7 separate regions of the Homo sapiens genome follow, and regions 2, 3, 4, 5, 6 and 7 are each linked to region 1. The links are contacts of gene promoters, found by promoter capture Hi-C in blood cells and fetal thymus (Javierre and others, 2016). All regions are on one chromosome and are shown on one strand. The core of a region is centred on a gene start or on the middle of the fragment in contact, and the rest is flanking DNA. Distances in the headings are between cores, read along the strand shown. Region 1 holds the start of CYP17A1 (cytochrome P450 family 17 subfamily A member 1). Region 2 overlaps PCGF6 (polycomb group ring finger 6). Region 3 overlaps INA (internexin neuronal intermediate filament protein alpha). Region 4 has its middle 22 kb from the start of RPEL1. Region 5 overlaps NT5C2 (5'-nucleotidase, cytosolic II). Region 6 overlaps NT5C2 (5'-nucleotidase, cytosolic II). Region 7 overlaps NT5C2 (5'-nucleotidase, cytosolic II).

Region 1 (2,765 bases), core at 197-2,696:
CCTCCTAGAGGTGCCCCCCAAAGCAAAAGGGTCCAAAGCCTCCCTTTTCCATTTCCTGACCCTGAAGATCCACATGACTAGCCTTCTCCATCTTCTCTGCCCCCGGGAGGAAGCCAGCAGAGGTGGGAGCTAGGTAGTTGGTCAGCAGACCTGGCTGATTGGTCCAAGAAAAAATAAACCAACCCTTGGCTTGATCAAAGCTGAGAGGCTGGCAGGGCACAGTGGCTTACGCCTATAATCCTAGCACTTTGGGAGGCTAAGGTGGGAGGATCACGAGGTCAGGAGATCGAGACCATCCTGGCTAACATGGTGAAACACCATCTCTACTAAAAATACAAAAAATTAGCGGGCATGGTGGCATGCTCCTGTAGTCCCAGGTACTCAGGAGGCTGAGGCAGGAGAATCACTTGAACCCGGGAGGCAGAGGTTGCAGTGAGCTGAGATTGGCCACTGCACTCCAGGCTGGGCGACAGAGAGAGACTCTGTCTCAAAAAAAAAAAAAAAAAAAAAAAATGCTGAGAGGCTGGGGGCCCTGCTGAGTGGGAGGCTCATCAGCAACCCTGAAATGTCATTGTAGAAAACTGCCCCTGTGAGCCTGAGTAGCTGGAAATAGCACCAGGAAAGCAGCAATCCCAGCCTGCAATAGCTAGGCTAATTCTCCCCAGCAGCTTTCATGGAGGACAGTAGTCACTGCCCCCATTTTCCATGAAAAGTAACATGAATCCTGGCTGTATAAGGGGCACTTACTGTGCTGGGTGCTAGGCTAAGTGCTGTACATGCACCTTCTCAGTCCATTAGAGAAGTCTAGGCTCAGAGAGAGGAGTGGAGTGAGGATTCCTTGACCCCTCAGACCACTGTGGTCCTCCCATCCCACCTCCTGGGCAGCCTGGTAGAGGAGACATTCCTTTAATTCTTCCTGCCTAATTTAGAGGCTGGGTGGGGGTCTGAAGGTTCACTCCCTTCACATCATCCCACTAGTCTACTTTGGGAAGAATTACAGGTTGTTGGAGCTGGAAGCCCCATTCTAGGCATGGTCTGAAGACCTGAACAATCCCAGGGGGTGGTGAAGGGGGCAGGGAGGAGATGGGCACCACTTACCATTTGAGGCCGCCCAGAGAAGTCCTTGCCCTTCTTAATAAGCACCTCCTTGGCCAGCTGGTGGTGGCCGACAATCACTGTAGTCTTGGTGCCCATACGAACCGAATAGATGGGGCCATATTTTTTCTGCAGCTTGAAGAAGTTGTTATGCATATGGCCGTGTCTGGGGAGGAATGGCAGGCTGCCCACCAGGGGCAGGGACAGGAGGCTCTTGGGGTACTTGGCACCAGGGCACCTTCTCTTGGGCCAAAACAAATAAGCTAGGGTAAGCAGCAAGAGAGCCACGAGCTCCCACATGGTGGCTGGGTGCCGGCAGGCAAGATAGACAGCAGTGGAGTAGAAGAGCTGTGGCAACTCTAGGGCACAAGGAGGCCTTTTAAAGGGCTACCCTGATCTTCACCTTGACTTTGTGTTATCTCTTGCCTTGTGGAAAGATTCTCCTGGAGCCCAGCCAGGCCTGAGCTCATATCCAGAAGGGAGAGAGGCGGTGGGAGTGAAGGCCTCCTCAAGGGCTGGCTCAACTCCAGGGCAAACCTCCGGAGGAGGAGCTAGGTAAGGGAGGTCAGTTGATCACCCTCTGAGGAGCTCCCCATGCTTGAATGACTCCAGAGTGCGAATGGTATCTGGGCTCAGGAGTCAAGGCTTGGAACTTTCCATGTTGCAAAATCAAAATCACTGGACAGATGACAGATTCAGGAGGGTCACAAGTAGCAGGGACTGTTAAAGGTCTTTTATGCTTCTTTTTTTTTTTTTCAGAGTCTTGCTCCATCACCAGGCTGGTGTGCAGTGGTGTGACTGTCCATGCAGCCCTGGCCCTCCAGCCCATGTGGTTTTGGCAGCGATAAGGGCTGTGGGTTAATGGTCCCCAAAATAAAAATGTACATGTGTATGGGAACGAAAGGGGTGCTAAGCTGTGGGGAGCGGTGGAAGGGAAGGGAGAGATAGGTCAGTACTAGGAATGCCAGAGGTGGGAGGCCGTTTCATAACATTTCTTGTTGATCAAAATGCCATCAACACCTTCTTTGCTCATCAGCAGGACTAGCGTACTGGGGGAACCCACCCCCAATATTTCAACGTAGGTTCTTTCTATAAGTGTCAGCCGGCTGAGAAATAAAGAGAGACAGTATAAAGAGAGGAATTTTACAGCTGGGCCGCCGGGGGTGGCATCACATATCGGTAGGACTGTGATACCCACCTGAGCCTCAAACCAGCAAGTTTTTATTAAGGGTTTCAAAAAGGGGAGGGGGTGTAAGAACAGGGAGTAGGTACAAAGATCACATGCTTCAAAGGGCGAAAAGCAGAACTACTAATAAGTGTCTAACAAAGATCACATGCTTCTGAGGGAAAGGACAAAGGGCAAAAGCAGAACTACCGATAAGGGTCCAACAAAGATCACAAGGCAAAGGGCAAAAGCAGAACCACTGATAAGGGTCCAACAAAGATCACAAGGCAAAGGGCAAAAGCAGAACTACAGATGAGGGTCTATGTTCAGCGGTGCACATACTGTCTTGATAAACACCTTAAACAACAGCAAACAGGGTTCGACAGCAGAGAACCGGTCTGACCACAAATTTACCAGGGCGGAGTTTTTCCCCACCCTAGTAAGCCTGAGGGTACTGCAGGAGACCAGGGCGTATCTCAGTCCTTATCTCAACTGCACAAGATAG
Region 2 (2,765 bases), core at 72-2,571, 480 kb after region 1:
AAAGTGCTGGGATTACAGGCATGAGCCACCGCACCCAGCTGGGGTTGGTCAGTTTCTAAGAGTTTGATGTGTATGGTCCTAGAACACTATGTGTGCATGTGGGTTTTTCTGTTATTCATTTTTTGCTTTAAAAAAAATGGGATCAACTGGGTGCGGTGGCTCACGCCTGTAATCCCAGCACTTTGGGAGGCCGAGACGGGCAGATCACCTGAGGTCAGGAGTTCGAGACCAGCTTGGCCAACATGGCAAAACCCTGTCTCTACAAAAAATACAAAAATAAGCTGGGTGTGGTGGCAGACACCTGTAATCCCAGCTACTCAGGAGGCTGAGGCAGGAGGATCACTCAAACCTGGGAGTCAGAAGTTGTAGTGAACCGAGATCGCGCCACTGCACTCTAGCCTGGGTAACAGAGGGAGACTCCATCTCAAAAAAAAAAAAAGAAAAAAGTGCGGGTGCGGTGGCGCACACCTGTAATCCTAGCACTTTGGGAGGCTGAGGCAGGCGGATCACAAGGTCAGCAGTTCAAGACCAGCCTGGCCAAGATGGTAAAACCCTGTCTCTACCAAAAATACAAAAAAATTAGCCGGGCATGGTGGCGGTCGCCTGTAATCCCAGCTACTCAGGAGGCTGAGGCAGAGAATGGCTTGAACCTGGGAGGCAGAGGCTGCAGTGAGCTGAGATGGCACCACTGCACTCCAGCCTGGGCGACAGAGCGAGACTCTGTCTGAAAAAAAAAAAGAAAAAAGAAAAAAAAAGTTGGTTTTGTTGGCACTCGCTGTCTAACAACTACCAAATTGCAGTTAGAAAACTTTTCACATTAGTGTAGGAAACTTTTTGCAGGCCTAGTTCCTCGATAGCCAAAGGCCAGCTTTGTAAGCAGGCCCTTCTAACGACAGCAGCCTCAAGGCTGATACGTTAACTCTTTTGTGCATAATATCTTACCCTCTGGAGTATCAAGAAGAGATAACAAAAATATTTTTGAATCTCAGAGCAGAAATCAGACCATGAAAGTAGTCTTATTAAAAGGAGAAAAAGTCCTCATCTTTTTAAAAGCAAGATCATGCTAGAGCTTCCAAGTTAAGATTTTTCAATCAGTGTGCTTTGATAAGCCACACTGGCTCATTCCTTTGATCATACATACTCTTCTTTTCGAGATGGAGTCTCACTCTGCCGCCCAGGCTGGAATGCAGTGGTGGGATCTCGGCTCACTGCCACCTCCGCCTCCTGGGTTCAAGCGATTCTCCTGCCTCAGCCTCCTGAGTAGCTGAGACTACAGGCGTACCACCATGCCCAGCTAATTTTTTTTTTGTATTTTTAGTAGAGACGGGGTTTCACCATGTTGGCCAGGATGGTCTCGATCTCTTGACCTTGTGATGTGCCCGCCTCGGCCTCCCAAAGTGCTGGGATTACAAGCGTGAGCCACCGGACCTGGCCATACATACTCTTCTTTGCTACTAAGTTCTTTTTTTCTGTGTCTGGCAAATTCCTATTTGTTCTTCAAACCCATTCCTGAGTTAAATCATTCACTTTTGTGTTATCTCCACTGTTGCATTCATTACATCCTATTGTTAGTTAGTTGTTTACTTATATATCTTTCCTACAAAATTCTGAGTCCCCTGATGGCATGAATTTTGTCTCATCTTTGTACTCCTAAGGTCAAATACATAGACCCTCAATTTAGTAACAATATATAATAAATGGTATGGAAACATCATATATTAGTCCTTAAAAAATTATTTGGAAACTAAATTTAATAGAAGGCTTAATATCATACACCAAATAAGTAATAATAATAACCTAACTTTTTTGAGATGGAGTCTTGCTCTGTCGCCAGGCTGTAGTGCAGTGGTGCGATCTCGGCTCACCGCAACCTCCACCTCCTGGATTCATGTGATTCTCCTGCCTCATCTTCCCGAGTAGCTGGGACTATACAGGTGCATACCACCATGCCCAGCTAATTTTTGTATTTTTAGTAGAGATGGGGTTTCACCATGTGGGCCAGGATGGTCTCCATCTCTTGACCTCGTGATCCGCCCGCCTCAGCCTCCCAAAATGCTGAGATTACAGGTATGAGCCACCATGCCTGGCCAGCCTAACTTTTAAGATGGAATTAGTTATGGCAGGATTAACAAAATCAAATATCACATCTTATAGAAGAATTTTTAGTGATCAATGTGAGGTGTATGTTCTAAATTTCATCTCATAAAAGCAAAATAAGGTCTGAATATCAAACAAAGCAAAATACAATAAGACATCAAAGAGTAAATACCACTAAATCAACCACAGTAACCCTGAGACACTGGAGTCTCTATGAGAAAGAAACATATTTGGATAATTATTGATCTCTAAATTTTAAATGAACTTAAATCTTTCTTAAGAACACATGATGGCCGGGCGCGGTGGCTCACACTTGTAATCCCAGCACTTTGGGAGGCCGAGGTGGGCAGATTGCCTGAGGCTGGGAGTTCAAGACCAGCCTGGCCAACATGGAGAAACTCTGTCTACTAAAAAAACTAGAAAATTAGCCAGGCATGGTGGCGCATGCCTGTAATCCCAGCTACTCAGGAGGCTGAGGCAGGATAATCGCTTGAACCCAGGAGGCGGAGGTTGCGGTGAGCCGACATCATCGCACCATTGCACTCCATCCTGGGCAAAAACAGTGAAACTTTGTCTCAAAAAAAAAAAGATCTGTATTTTTTAAACTTTTGGAATTGTCTTGTTTTTAAAATTTGATCTGCCACAAAAAACTTTAAAGTTTAACAGTC
Region 3 (2,765 bases), core at 184-2,683, 440 kb after region 1:
CTGGAGCTGGAGGAGCGGCACAGTGCCGAGGTAGCTGGCTACCAGGTAAGGGCCGGGGCTGGGCGTGGGGAGGGGTGCCCTGCCCTCTTCCGCGCGTACCCTCTTCCTCTGGTAAAACTGGGCCCCAGGACTTAAGGGGAGGGCAAAAGAGAGGAGAGAAGAGCCGCGGCTGGAGGCGCTGGTTAACAAAAAACCCTGGAGTCTTTAATGTTAATTTTAGGGAACGCCCCTCATTTATGTCCCTGCCCCAGCCCTTCAAACAAAGAAGCCCTTAAATTTATTTGAGGTTCGAAAACCCAACTCTGCCTGTCTGTCAGCAAGCGGGCCTACACACACCGGCGACCCGGAGAACAGTGCCCCACCCAAAGTAAGACTGAGCCCAACGGGGCAGGTTACGTGGGCGGTGCTGTCTCGGCTATCTGGCTTGTTTGGTTGACTTTGAAAAGCTTTCTGTGCGCCCTAGAAGTTATTTATGGAGTATGGTCTGCTTCAGGGCTGAAGGAAGAATGCGATCCTGAACTGGGAAGAGTCCTATCCCATTTTCTTGACTTTCGCGCTCCAAAAAGTAGAGATTGGGAGCCAACAAGCTGAGCGATGCTTGAGCTAGTAGTAACCACCCTGCTCTACCCACCTCCCCAACACACACACACACACGATTCCCTTGTCCACCAGCACACACACACACACACACACACACACACACGATTCCCTTGTCCACCAGCTGACATTTCCTCCTTAAGAAAGCGTTCGCCGGTTGGCAAAACGTGAAAGGTCGGGGCGCTGTCCACGGTGCTGATCTCGAGTTCTTCCCATCTCAGAAATTATGTCTCTCCTGTCTCGTGTCCCAGTTATGAATCTCTAGGCAATTAACTGCTTTGATTTTTTTTTTCCTGCAACACCAACACATCAGTCTTGGCTACCTGCAATCAAAGGTCACCTCATAGACAACATCAGTTTTGGCTTTCATGGATGGCTTAGCACTAAACAAAAAACACTTAATTTGCTCAGCAGCTGTGAGGTCCCACTTGAAAATTCCTGTTTTGTTAGTATTTTTTTCATTGTAAGTGCATGTGATAAGTCACAGAGATGGTTTTTCTTTGTTCTAGTGTATGTATTTTTTCCATATTTCCCTGTCCTCTAAGCTCCTGTGATGGTATTGATTGGCTATTTCTTCCCAACAAAGGCCACTGTGTCTTCAGTTTTACTATATAAGAAATTCTGGGATTATGACCGCAAATGGCACAGAGGCAGGGGACAGGGTAAATGGAAGGTGTAGAAAAGAATTGGAATAGTGTGGTTCGGTTTCAAGGTACAATAAAAGCTCCTTTGAATAGAATGACTATAATTCAGAAACTTGCAATAATTCTAGCTAGGATTAAAGTTTACATTTGGTGAGATTAATAGGGCTTGGAACATTGGTAAAATAGAACCAAGAAAGGAATGAAATCTCAAAAGTAACATTTTAATCAGAAGCTAAAGAATTCTTATTGATGTGCAGGTATTTGCTGTTTGTTACAATAACTTCCTTTGATAAAGGAAAAAAGCCTGCTTGGACTGTTTAGGTTAGTTTGGTATTGCATTATCATTCAAATAAGTACTTCCATTTCTGCCTCAAAATCCATAACTTGAACTTTTCATTATGTACCCTAACCCCTGGATGGCCTGAATTAATCACATTTGGCTAATTGAGACTTCATTTTTTTCTTCTAGAAGCCTCCAAGTACGAGCTAGGTGGTCTTCTGGAGGGCTAGCCCAGTATTTCTACAAAAAAAGGATAACTTACTCAGAGCTGCCAGCTGAATTGGGCTTCTCCATTTTCTCTGCTTGTTATAGCCCATACATTCTAAGAAGTAGTGACAGTTTTGCCTGGCTTGTTTGCTGTAAAAGGCTTTCATCATTAGACAATGGTAGCGTCATCCAGACATGGTCTACAGGAAACAAACAAAAAACAACAACAGAGAAACTGCAGCATCTGCAGCTCTGCGGTGCTGCCCCCATCAGCTTGAGCCTTTAGAGCCACAGAGGACCTGCTGATGGGAGTGGAAGAGGAGGTCAGACAACAGAGAGCTGGTTCCCTACTCCTTGGGACCTAAGGCTAAGGTGGAGCTCAAGTCTTACCTGCAGATCCTAACGGCCTGATGCCACAAGGGTGTCTCTGACTGTTCTAACAATCTTAGCAGTGCTGACCAAGGTGAAAAGCCTCCCTTTCTACAGTGAGATTTAGCCATTGTTTTCTTGCCCTCTCATCTCATCCCCACCTTTCACTGCAGTAATGGGAGGCTGTTCTCCTTCTTCTGCTACAGAGATTAGTGGTAGGGCCATTTTTCTTTTCAAACTTGGCACCCTCTATGAAACATAGGAAGGCCCCATTAAAGTCCCATCTTCTCTGCCCCAGATAGCTGATAGCCTATTTAAGGAGAGAAAGCTTCTTACACTTTTGAAAGGGTAAAAAATGATTCACGGTGACACAGTAAGTACACAATAGTGGATGAGAGAGTCTGAATCAGGCAAGAGAAGAGATTAGGAAGAGCTAAGGCTATTGTCTTCAAAAGCCAAATGCAACTCCCCTCTGCATAAAAAGCTGATGGGGTTTCCATTTCTGACATAGGGCAATGCTGGTGCCTACATAGCCACTTCGGCACCATTAGAGTCCTAGTTCTGTTAAAGATGTCCAAAGACATTCTTGGAGGGTACTCAGGGTCTCAGACCTCTACTGTGGTCAGTCTTGGAAAGTTGAAGCTTTCCTTGAAAGACCTTGCTGAATG
Region 4 (2,765 bases), core at 128-2,627, 390 kb after region 1:
TGCATTCTCAATGGCCCCCAAAGTCTTAAGTCATTCCAGCATTAACTCAAAAGTCCACAGTCCCAAATCTCATCTGAGACAAGGCAAGTCCCTTCTGCCTGTGAGCCTATAAAATAAAAAACAGGTTAGTTACTCCCAAGATACAATGAGGGTACAGGCATTGGGTAAATATTCCCATTCCAAAAGGGAAAAATTGGCCAAAAGAAAGAGGCTACAGGCCCCATGCAAGTTTGAAACCCAGCAGGGCAGTCATTAAATCTTTTTTTTTTTTTTGAGATGGAGTCTTGCTCTGTCACCCAGGCTGGAGTGCATGGAGTGCAGTGGCACAATCTCATCTCACTTCAACCTCTGCCTCCTGGATTCAAGCAATTCTTCTGTCTCAGCCTCCCAAGTAGCTGGGACTACAGGCAAGTGCCGCCACTAGCAAGTGCCTGGCTAATTTTTGTATTTTTAGTAGAATATTTTTGTATTCACCATATTGGCCAGGCTGGTCTCGAACTCCTGACCTCATGATCCGCCCACCTTGGCCTCCCAAAGTGCTGGGATTACAGGCATGAGCCACTGTGCCCAGCTGAATCTTAAAACTCCAAAATAATTTCCTTTGACTCCATGTCTCACATCTAGTGCACACTGGTGCTATGGGTGGGCTCCCAAGGCCTTGGGCAACTCCACCCCTGAGGCTTTCCAGGGTACAGCCCCCATGGTGGCTTTCATAGGCTGGAATTGAGTGCCTACAGCTCTTCTAGGTGGAGGGTGCAAGCTGCCAGTGAATCTACCATTCTGGGGTCTGAAGGATGGTGGTCCTCTTCTCACAGCTCCATTAAGCAGTGCCCAATGGGGATTCTGTGTAGGGGCTCCACTGCCCTAGTAGAGGTTCTCCATAAGGCTCCACCTCTACAGCAGGCTTCTGCTTGGACATCAAGGCTTTTCCACAAATCCTCTGAAATCTAGGCAGAGGCTCCCAAACCTCAACTCTTGTACTCTGTGCACCAGTAGGCTTAGCATTACATGGAAGCTGCCAAGGCTTATGGCTTGCACCTTCTGGAGCAGTGGCTGGAGCTACAGCCACTTTTAGCCACAGCTGGAGCTGGAGTGGCTAGGATGCAGGGAGCAGTGTCCTGAGGCTGTACAGGGTGACAAAGCCCTGGGCCTGGCCCACAAAGCCATTCTTCCCTCCTAGGCCCCAAGGCCTGTGATGAGAGGGGCTGCCGCAAAGGTTTCTGAGATGCCTTTGAGGCCTTTTTCCCATTGTCTTGGCTATCAGCATTTGGCTCCTCTTTACTTAAGCAAATTTGTGTAGTGAGCTTGAATTTTGAGACAAAGTCCCACTCTGTCGCCTAGGTTGGAGTGCAGTGGCGCCATCTCGGCTCACTGAAACTTCTGCCTTCTGGGCTCAAGCGATCCTCCCACTTCAGCCTCCTGAGTAGCTTGGACGACAGGCATGGTTTTTCCTTTCTATGTGGGCCTGGCTGCAAATTTTCCAAACTTTTACCTTCTGCTTCCCTTTTAAATACAAGTTCCAGTTTTATGTCATTTCTTTGCTCATGCATATGAACATAGGTAGTCAGAAGCAGCCAGGTCACTTCTTGAATGCTTTGCTGCTGAGAAATTTCCCCACCAGATACCCTAAATCATCACTCTCAAGTTCAAAGTTCCACAGACCCCTAGGACAGGGGCACAATGCCTGCAACCTCTTTGCTAACACATAACAAAAGTGACCTTTGCTCCAGTTTCCAATAAGTTCCTCATTTCCATCTGAGACCTCCTCAGCCTGGACTTCATTGTCCAGCTCAATATCAGCATTTTGGTAACAACCATTTAACCAGTTTCTAGGAAGTTCCAACTTTTTTCTCATCTTCCTGTCTTCTTCTGAGCCTTCCAGGCTGTTCTAACTTCTGCCCCTTATCCAGTTCTCAAGCCGCTCCCACATTTTCAAGTATCTTTATAGCAATGCCACACTCCCAGTACCAATTTTCTGTATTAGTCTGTTCTCACCCTGCTATAAAGAAATACATGAGATTGGGTAATTTATAAAGAAAAGAAGTTTAATTGGCTCACGGTTCTGCAGCCTGTACAGGAGCATGAAGCCTTCTGGGAGGCCTCAGGAAACTTTAAATCATGGTGGAAGGCAAAAGGGAAGCAGGCATGTCTTACGTGGCTGGAGCAAGAGGAAGAGATCGGGGGAAGTGGTACACAATTTTTTTTTTCTTTTTTGAGACGGAGTCTCACCTTGTTGCCCAAGCTGGAGTGCAATGGCATGATCTCGGCTCACTGCAACCTCTGCTGCCTGGGTTCAAGCAATTCTCCTGCCTCACCCTCCCAAGTAGCTGGGATTACAGGCACCTGTCACCAAGCTCAGCTAATTTTTGTATTTTTAGTAGAGATGGGTTTTCACCATCTTGGCCAGGCTGGTCTTGAGCTCCTGACCTCGTGATCCACCTGCCTCGGCCTCCCAAAGTGCTGGGATTACAGGCGTGAGCCACTGCGCCCAGCCGGAAGTGGTACACACATTTTTTTGTTTTCGTTTTTGTTTTGAGACAGAGTCTTGCTCTGTCGCCCAGGCTGGAGTGCAGAGGTGTGATCTTGGCTCATGGCAAGCTCCACTTCCTGGCTTCACGCCATTCTCCTGCCTCAGCCTCCCAAGTAGCTGGGACCACAGGTGCCAGCCACCACGCCCAGCTAATTTTTTTGTATTTTTAGTAGAGATGGGGTTTCACCGTGTTAGCCAGGATGGTCTCAATCTCCTGACCTCGTGATCTGCCCGC
Region 5 (2,765 bases), core at 181-2,680, 320 kb after region 1:
CACGGTACTAAATGTCAATATTGCACTTATGAAAACGGTGAATGTAAGAATTTTTTTCATCCCCAAGCACAAAATGTATCCATTTATTTCTAAAGATAGCATAGAGAATAAAACTTAATTGATGTCATTTATATACTCCATGTACTTCAAATGCACTTATTATCCATTCGGACAGTACAGACATTGCTCCAGAGGCTCCTAGAGATAAACCTAAAAAAAAAATCTGCCGTTACAGTGTCCTAGAGGGGTAATATAGGTCCCTCCAACTTTCTCTAACTAACCAAGTCTAACATATACTTTACCATAGGGTAAAAATTAGCACTAACTACTTCCAAGAACTTTAACCGCGTCTAGAAATACAATTCATCTTAAATCTACAAACTATAATAGCTTTATAAACAACCCTGTGTACAAGATTGACAAACATACTAGCACCTGTGATAGTCCTTATCATAAAAATGGTTTAACACCTACCTATCTATAGCCAGTGGTAGAAGGAAAGAAAATATACCAACCTAAAAAGGCAGTCCTTTAAGAAAATATACCAATCTAAAACAGCAGTCCTTTCATAATTTTCACATTTAAAAGAAACCTCAAATTTCTAGTGATGTCATAAAAGGTCTAAAAATAATACAGAATTACTTATACCCCTGGTTGTTCTCGTTATTCAATAATGAAATCTAAAAATAGCAGTAAAGTGGGCCAATTTTATTTTGTTCATAATCAATACATGATTAGATTAAAATAAGTTGTAAATGTGAGGCTCTGGAACCACTTCAAATTTTCTTACAGAACAAAAGAACTAGAAAGATAATTAATAGATTCCAGAAAAATAAAAACTAAACTTTTACTGTATTTTTAAAGAATTTTTTTGAGAGATTTATGTCCTATTTTATTAAAAGAAACATCTCTCTAAAATTAACCAGGTCTAGTTATGCCTGAAGGCTAGAAATGAAATAACCAACAGTATGCAGTTATTAACTTATCACTTATTATAGTGGTCACAAAAAGAGAATCAGTAATAATTCAGACTCTGAAGCATAAGAGAAAATAATACAAAAATAATATGGAACTATCTTATATTGCAAAGCAAATTAGAATAGGGAATTCTACTCTAAATTATTTTTTGCCTACATGCCCCAGAAACAAAATCATAGGCTGTTTTTCACTAAATATTTCACACCATTTTCTAAAGGTACAACTTATTTTAAAACGCCATTGAATTTTTAAGCTTCCCTCAATTCTTCGGTAAACCACCGTTTGCTTCCAATCTTGATAAATACATTCTGCAGAAAAACAAAATGAATTTACCACAGAGTAAACAAAGTACTTATATCTTACAAAATTCCTATTAAGATTGCCCTTACTCAGTGCTGTCTTTCAAAACAACAATAGCAACTTTATAGTAGATTACACATGAAACACTATAAGATTTGGGCTGAATTTCTTTCAATCTCTGCCTCTACCTCCACTCTCGGACTGGTAGCACTGCTTATTAATCTTTTAATTCATGCAGATGATACCTCTTCACTGAGAAAAATGAAAGAGAAAGAATAATAAAATCACTTACCCTTCCTTAGACATTCTCAAAGATCTACTTCCTCTGGATGAGAATACAGGATCAACAAACAAGCTTCACTGATCTCTTGAGAACTGTAGCTCATTTGTTAAAGCACAGAGAACTCAGGCCCTGAGAGGCCCAACAAATTTGGGCACAATGCCGAACCCTAACTAGGCAATATCTCAGTGACCAATATCCTCAGCTTTAAATACTTGAAAACTTAAGAATAATTTTTTTAAAAATTTCAAGACTAGGAAAAATAACTAATGGCCTGAACTGTTTAAGGCTGGCCAGTTAAGGAAGGAGACAATCCAAATGGCAAGTTCCTGTAAGAGACAGGAATCGTTACTGGCAAACACAGAAAAAGCAAATTTACCCCCTAATGAGGCCCTCCAACAGTACGCAAACAATGTGAGTTTCACAGAATCAAGCAGCCCTGGTCGGTCAAAATCATTTTTAGTTTACTCTGGGAGCAAAAAACACAGGATAAATAATTTTATGTTTTAATTATTAGTGTAGTTATTTCCTCCCTCAGAAAATAAACAATGTGAATTACAAGAGAAGGAAGTATGTGCAGATCATATTACAGGAGGAACCTAAAGTATTTCCACAGCGAGGTATTTTTTTTTCTGACTTCATTAACTGCTTTTAAACAAAACATCTGCGTTCACAAATATTTCACTTAATCGCCTGAAAATTTCAGCTCATGTGAAAAGATATTTACAGATCTTTGGCATATGGGGGATAAATCCAGAACATTCTAAAGGTTAATTCCAAATCTCAGAGCAAACTGAGCTTTGAAAAAAAAGAATCTGTAACATTCCTGCCTCCCGACCAATATAATGCATAGGGATTATGCAACAGGGGAAGAAATAAATAAGTCTGCTAAAGTCTAAGAACATTGAGATGGCAAATCCTCCTCACGGTGATTCAAATTAAAAATAAAATACATATACCTTAAAGAACTACTACTTGAATTAAGGCTTAAAATTTTTAAAAGCTTTATCCCTTTAAATATTACCTAAATATCTTACCATAAAGGTTTCTTTTTGTTATTAAAATGTTTAAATAGTTACTAAGTAATTAAAAGCACTACTAAATACTATAAATTCAAAATAAAATTAAGGGATAAAAGACTTTAAGGTAGAAAAAATAAAAAAGAAAAAACAAAAGAAAATTATTTTCAGTTTATTTAGAAAAGCAG
Region 6 (2,765 bases), core at 174-2,673, 280 kb after region 1:
ACAGCTATGTAAATCTATTCACCATAGGCCTTGTCAAGTTCAGTTTAGTCTAATCAGAACATTGATACAATTCAATGAATCTAGCATGAAATTATCATATTTCTTTTCCTTTTTTTTTTTTTTTGGATAGGTCTCATTCTGTAGCCCAGGCTGAAGTGCAGTGGCACAATCTCAGCTCACTGCAACCTCCGCCTCCCAGGATCAAGCAATTCTCCCACCTCAGCCTCCAGAGTAGCTGGGATTACAGACGTGCACCACGCTCAACTAATTTTTGCATTTTTTGTAGAGATGCGGTTTTGTTATGTTGCTCAGGCTGGTCCTGGACTCCTAGGTGCAAGCAATCCATCTGCCTCGGCCTCCCAAAGTGCTGGCATTAATTACAGGAATAAGCCACCATGCCTGGACAAAATCATCACATTTCATCTTCACAAATCTCCTTTAGGGGTTGAGTCCTTATGATATATTCTGATTAGATTTTTACTTTGTTTAGTTTTATGAATGTTTTCTAATTTATTTTTATTAATTTTATTAACCACAATTATCTTTTTTGTTTGTTTGTTTTTTAAGGGATCATCTCTTTTTGGAGAGGGAATTTTTTTTTTCTTTTTATCTGTTACCCTAGTTTAAATACTCAGCTTATTCTCTTATTCTACCCTATTTGTGGGGGAGGGCAAGAGTCCAAAAACTCTTAAGAAAAAAGATCACTAAGGGAGATCATGAATGCATTTTTAAGATGTAGTAAGTCAAACTACATCTATTTTTCTGTTCTTTAATTTTCAGTTGTATGCTTTTGATCCATTCACAAACTGATAAATCTCTCAAGAATAAGTCAGAGGGCCGGGCACAGTGGCTCACACCTGTAATCCCAGTACTTTGGGAAGCCAAGATGGGTGGATCACCTGAGATGGGGAGTTCAAGACCAGCCTGACCAACATGGAGAAACCCCATCTCTACTAAAAATACAAAATTAGCCAGGCATGGTGGCACATGCCTGAAATCCCAGCTACTCAGGAGGCTGAGGCAGGAGAATCATTTGAATCCAGGAGGCAGAGGTTGCGGTGAGCTGAGATCGCGCCATTGTACTCCAGCCTGGGCAACAAGAGCAAAATTTTGTCTCCAAAAAAAAGTCAGAGGGTATATACAGGTTGGTAGCTTTCACTGACTTAGAAGTGCTCATTCCCTCACACAAATATCTCTTGCACATATAATCTGGAAGCCAGTGGGATGAGGTAATGCACAAGTTCTATATTTTCCAAGTTGTGAGGAGGATGCCCTGAGTATTATTTCATGACCTAGGACAATGAGAATTTCTTTGGTCTTTTTGATAAAGGTTACCTTTCTTGTTTTGTACCAAAGACTTTTCAACAAATACATTCCTTTCAGAGACCTCTCGTCACAGTAAGAACTCCAAATAGATGCAACCAGTTTACACGCTATCAATAGTAAGTTCAGCTCAGCTAATCTTCCATCTTAATTCATCAAAGAGTTTCATCGTTCTTTAAGAAGAAATGCTAAAGCACAGACTTTTACATTGTCATTGGTTTCATTAAACAAAAAAAAAGGCGTGGCCAGTTGCAGTCTCATGCCTGTAATCCCAGCACTCTGGAAGGCTGAGGCTGGTGGACTGCTTGAGTCCAGGAATTAGAGACCAGCCTGGGCAACATGGTGAAACCCCATTTCTACAAAAAATAAAAAAATTAGCCAGGCATGATGGCACGAGCCTATAGTCCCAGCTACTTGGGAGGCTGAAATGGGAGAATCACTTGAGCCTGGGAGGCAGAGGTTGCAGTGAGCTGAGATCACACCACTGCACTCCAGCCTGGATGACAGTGTGAGACCCTGTTTCAAAAAAAAAAAAGGAAGAAAAGAAAAGAAGTAAACTCAAAATGGATCAAAGACCTAAATGTAGGAGTTAAAACTATAAAACTCTTAGAAGAAAACATGGCAGAAAATCTTCCTTATATTGGATTTGGGAATGATTTCACAGCTATGACAGCAAAAAGCACTGGCAACAAAAGAAAAAAACAGATAAACTGGACTTCAAAATTAAAAACTTTTGTGCCTCAAAAGCCATGATCAAGAGAGGGAAAAGAAAACCCACAGAATGAGAGACAATATTTGCAAATTGTGTATCTGATGAGGGATTAATATCCAGAATATATAAAGATTAATATGCAGAATGTGTAACTCCACAGTTATTTTAAAAACCTAATTTTAAAAAACTGATATTTCTCCAAAGAAGTTATATAACTGACTAAATAAACACATGAAATGATGCTTAATATCACCAGCCATTAGAGAAACATGAAATCAAAACCATAAGATACCGTAACTTCACACCCAGTAGAATGAGTATTATCAAACAACAACAAAAAACCTGAAAATAAGTATTGCCAAGATGTGAAGAAACTGGAACTCTCATTCATGTATTGCTGGTGGGGATGTAAGATGTTACAGCCACTATAGAGAACAGTTTGGCAGTTCTTTAAAAAGCTAAACATAGATTTACGTTATGATCCAGCAATTCCATTCCTGGGTATATACCCAAAACAACTGAAAGCAGGAAGCAGGAACTCAAACAGATGCTTAAATACCAATGTTCACAGCAGCCTATTCATAATAGCCAAAAGGTGGAGACAATCCCCATGTCCATCAACAGATGAACAGATAAACAAATGTATATACCTACAGTAGAATATTATTCAGTCTCAAAAAGTAATATATGCTATAACATGGACAAATTTAAAAAATATGCTAAAAGAAAT
Region 7 (2,765 bases), core at 69-2,568, 260 kb after region 1:
AGCTTTCCACCAAATTTAGTGTCTTCAAGTGGATAAAGCCCAAAGAGGATAAGAAGTTAGCCAACTCTGGTATATAGATGGCTAAACTTTCAGTATTGGCTATATAATTCTCCCTAAAGGGAGAGGATAACTTGTTTAAGACTTACGCAAAATTTTACTTCTGATAAGATACACAGTATTTATTCCTTAATCAAATCTTGCCTGGCCTGGGAATGAAATTAAATTACCATCCCTGAATGGCTCCTGGGTAGCTGCTGTGAAATGAGTTGGGGGGTTTTAGTGTAATTCTGCTTGGACAGATAATCATCACACAAACCTCCCACTCAGTTGTCACAATTAGCACCTCTGCTGGCCGTCTTCATTCCCAGGAGAAGCCAATCAGAAGTGGTGGCTGCAGCACACTGGCAAGGAGAGGGGCCGTGTGGGAGGTGAGAGCCTGCATGGAGCTGCTGGTGCTGTCCCATCTCTCAGGTTGGCAATGTGGCATCTCTCACTAGCACTAAATTCACTTTAGAAAAGCAGAAAAGACCTACAATGGCCAGTTCTCTAAAACCCTGTGCATTAATTTTAAAAATCAATTGGAAAAAAATAATTATAGTATATACATACCTGGTATATCTGGGACAATTAGTAAAAAAATCTACTAGGCAGGCCAACAGGTAGGTCTCTGAAAAATGAAGAACAGATATTCATAAGCTATAATGAAATAATTCAAACTTATTTCATTACCTCCCTTGAATACAGACTAATGGTCACAGAAGGGAAAGCATCAGTATAAATAAGCATAGAATGAATCTACCTGGTAGGTTGAATAGTGTGTTCAGAATGTAAAATCTTTCAGTATCATCTCGCTGGATAAATTTATTTGGATACTGTTCTCTAGTTTCTGGTCTGAAAGAAAAATTTAAAAATTAACTGATTTTTAAAATAACATTATAATAATTGGGAAATAGCATTATTCAAAAATTAACTCAAATATTTTGATGGCTATGTGCAAGACAGAATTCCGAATATTACGCATGGATAGCTATGAAGATGAACGAGTTCAGGTTCCAGCTCTTTATTTTTTTTAATTTTAATTTTTTTTTTTTTTTAAGACAGTCTTGCTATTTTAAGTCCAGGCTGGACTCAAACTCCTGAAGATTGCTCAAGCAATCTTCCCACCTCAGCCTCCCAAGTAGCTGGGATTACAGGTGTGATGTCCAGCTTAGGTTCCAGCTCTTAAAAGAGTTGTCAGTGTGGTGGGCGAGGTGGGTCACATACACATATAATTATAAGGTAAAAAATCACAACTACTACAAGAAAGGTGCAAACATTTATGAGAAAACCAAAGAAGGGAACACCATTTCAACTTAAGAGGTAGAGAGAAGCAAATGTGAGGACTAAGGAGAGGAAAATCTAGGAAGGATTCATGCACGTGCTGGTATATGAGCTGGGCCTTAAAGGCTAGGTGGACCAGTTGTGAAACTAGTCCAACTTGGGTAGAGAAAGGGGAGCAGAGAAAAATTAAGCTAGAAAGATGGGTTGAGGCAGATTAAGCTACTGTTTCTACACCATTTAGGGGCAAGAGGGTACTACTGACAGTTTTAAAGCAGAGGATAATCCCATCGGGGCTGAGTTGTAAAACAAAATTAAATTAGTGGCTGTTTTAGGATAAACTGGGGAAAGACAATGTGATGCACTCCAACAATGGCCACAAATTCTTCCTGTCTCTTTGTGATGCAATTTTGTGGCTCCTCCCATTAGAACTCAGTCTATTTCTCTATCCTTGAATATAGGCTTGTATAGCAGCAAATGGGATCCAAGCAGAGACCTAGAAAAACATGTGTGTATTGAGGCTTAATCTCTCTTGCAGCACTTGGAACCATGGACTACTATGTGCATGACAGTGAGATAGTCTGCTGGAGGATAGAAGGCTACATGTAGAAATGAAGCACTCGGCCAACAGCCTGTGAATGCCAGACATGTGCATGAGGCCATTGTAGATCAGATGCCAGGTCACCCACCAGCTAACCACAGACATGTGAAAGAGCATAGAGAGATCAGCTGTGCAACCCAGAATCACCCAGTTGACTCTCAGAATTTTTTCTTTTTTCTTTTTTTTTTTTTGAGACAGAGTCTCACTCTGTCGGCCAGGCTGGAGTGCAGTGGCGTGATCTCAGCTCACTCATATATTCAAGAGAGATTACCAAGGTAAAATAAGACCCGGCAAACTGAGCAGATTTGGCTGGGGGAACATTAAAGAGTCAAAGATGATGATGTCCATGCTAAGGTGTCTCTGAGAGGTGGTTGGTACGATGAACAGAAATATGAAAACTAGATAAGAAGTGATGTGAGAGTAGTTCTATTTTAGTGATACTAAGTTTGAAGTAAACTGATTTTTATTAGGCAATTAGAAACAAAGGTCAAGAACTTAAAAGAGATTCAGCCTTGAGAGATAACTGAGATCATCTACGTACAGATACTAGATGGAATCATGAAAAGTATTAGAGGAGATGAAACCACTTAGTGTGCAGAGAAGGAAGAGAAGAGACAGAACAGAACCATGAAGAAAATTCAAGGTTTAAAAGAAAAAAGCCAGTGAAGCAGAATTTGTTAAAGATGCAAAAACACTTCTAGAAGAAAACATTTCAGAGAAACTCAAAGGGAAAAATACTAAAATATAAAAATGCACAGTTCTGACAGTGAATACATGGAGATTAACAATGTAAATAAAGGAAATCAAATTTAAAGCTCACACTCAGAGTGACCTGGATTAATTCCTG

What was found. The method cuts DNA at HindIII sites, captures the fragments that hold promoters and counts their contacts. A CHiCAGO score of 5 or more calls a contact.
Region 2: a contact is called between a fragment that was not itself captured here and the fragment with the promoter of CYP17A1 in region 1, in 6 of 17 cell types (M0 macrophages, M1 macrophages, endothelial precursors and 3 more). The highest score is 7.7, in M0 macrophages.
Region 3: a fragment that was not itself captured here is called in contact with the fragment with the promoter of CYP17A1 in region 1 in 3 of 17 cell types (erythroblasts, M1 macrophages and M0 macrophages); the score reaches 7.3 in erythroblasts.
Region 4: a fragment that was not itself captured here is called in contact with the fragment with the promoter of CYP17A1 in region 1 in 2 of 17 cell types (erythroblasts and naive CD4 T cells); the score reaches 6.2 in erythroblasts.
Region 5: a fragment that was not itself captured here is called in contact with the fragment with the promoter of CYP17A1 in region 1 in 1 of 17 cell types (erythroblasts); the score reaches 7.0 in erythroblasts.
Region 6: a fragment that was not itself captured here is called in contact with the fragment with the promoter of CYP17A1 in region 1 in 1 of 17 cell types (erythroblasts); the score reaches 8.1 in erythroblasts.
Region 7: a fragment that was not itself captured here is called in contact with the fragment with the promoter of CYP17A1 in region 1 in 2 of 17 cell types (erythroblasts and megakaryocytes); the score reaches 9.7 in erythroblasts.

Annotation. Positions count from the first base shown.
Region 1 is chr10:102,835,967-102,838,731 of GRCh38, forward strand. CYP17A1 (cytochrome P450 family 17 subfamily A member 1) reads right to left here and starts at 1,447. Exons shown (of 8, transcript NM_000102.4): 1 at 1,099-1,447. The coding sequence starts at 1,395. RefSeq lists a promoter at 1,407-1,686. The HindIII fragment of the contact is 11,808 bases long and covers 1-2,765 here.
Region 2 is chr10:103,318,017-103,320,781 of GRCh38, forward strand. The region is part of intron 8 of PCGF6 (polycomb group ring finger 6); the gene reads right to left. Among named protein-coding and RNA genes, the nearest start is that of PCGF6, 32 kb to the right of the region's middle. The HindIII fragment of the contact is 3,787 bases long and covers 1-2,765 here.
Region 3 is chr10:103,278,232-103,280,996 of GRCh38, forward strand. INA (internexin neuronal intermediate filament protein alpha) reads left to right here. Exons shown (of 3, transcript NM_032727.4): 1 at 1-45. Among named protein-coding and RNA genes, the nearest start is that of INA, 2.5 kb to the left of the region's middle. The HindIII fragment of the contact is 1,979 bases long and covers 445-2,423 here.
Region 4 is chr10:103,222,780-103,225,544 of GRCh38, forward strand. No RefSeq gene overlaps it. Among named protein-coding and RNA genes, the nearest start is that of RPEL1, 22 kb to the right of the region's middle. The HindIII fragment of the contact is 5,826 bases long and covers 1-2,765 here.
Region 5 is chr10:103,151,721-103,154,485 of GRCh38, forward strand. The region is part of intron 3 of NT5C2 (5'-nucleotidase, cytosolic II); the gene reads right to left. Among named protein-coding and RNA genes, the nearest start is that of NT5C2, 40 kb to the right of the region's middle. The HindIII fragment of the contact is 402 bases long and covers 1,230-1,631 here.
Region 6 is chr10:103,118,253-103,121,017 of GRCh38, forward strand. All of the region lies in intron 4 of NT5C2 (5'-nucleotidase, cytosolic II), which reads right to left. Among named protein-coding and RNA genes, the nearest start is that of NT5C2, 74 kb to the right of the region's middle. The HindIII fragment of the contact is 5,128 bases long and covers 1-2,765 here.
Region 7 is chr10:103,100,436-103,103,200 of GRCh38, forward strand. NT5C2 (5'-nucleotidase, cytosolic II) reads right to left here. Exons shown (of 19, transcript NM_001351169.2): 7 at 800-891; 8 at 610-667. Among named protein-coding and RNA genes, the nearest start is that of NT5C2, 91 kb to the right of the region's middle. The HindIII fragment of the contact is 6,803 bases long and covers 1-2,765 here.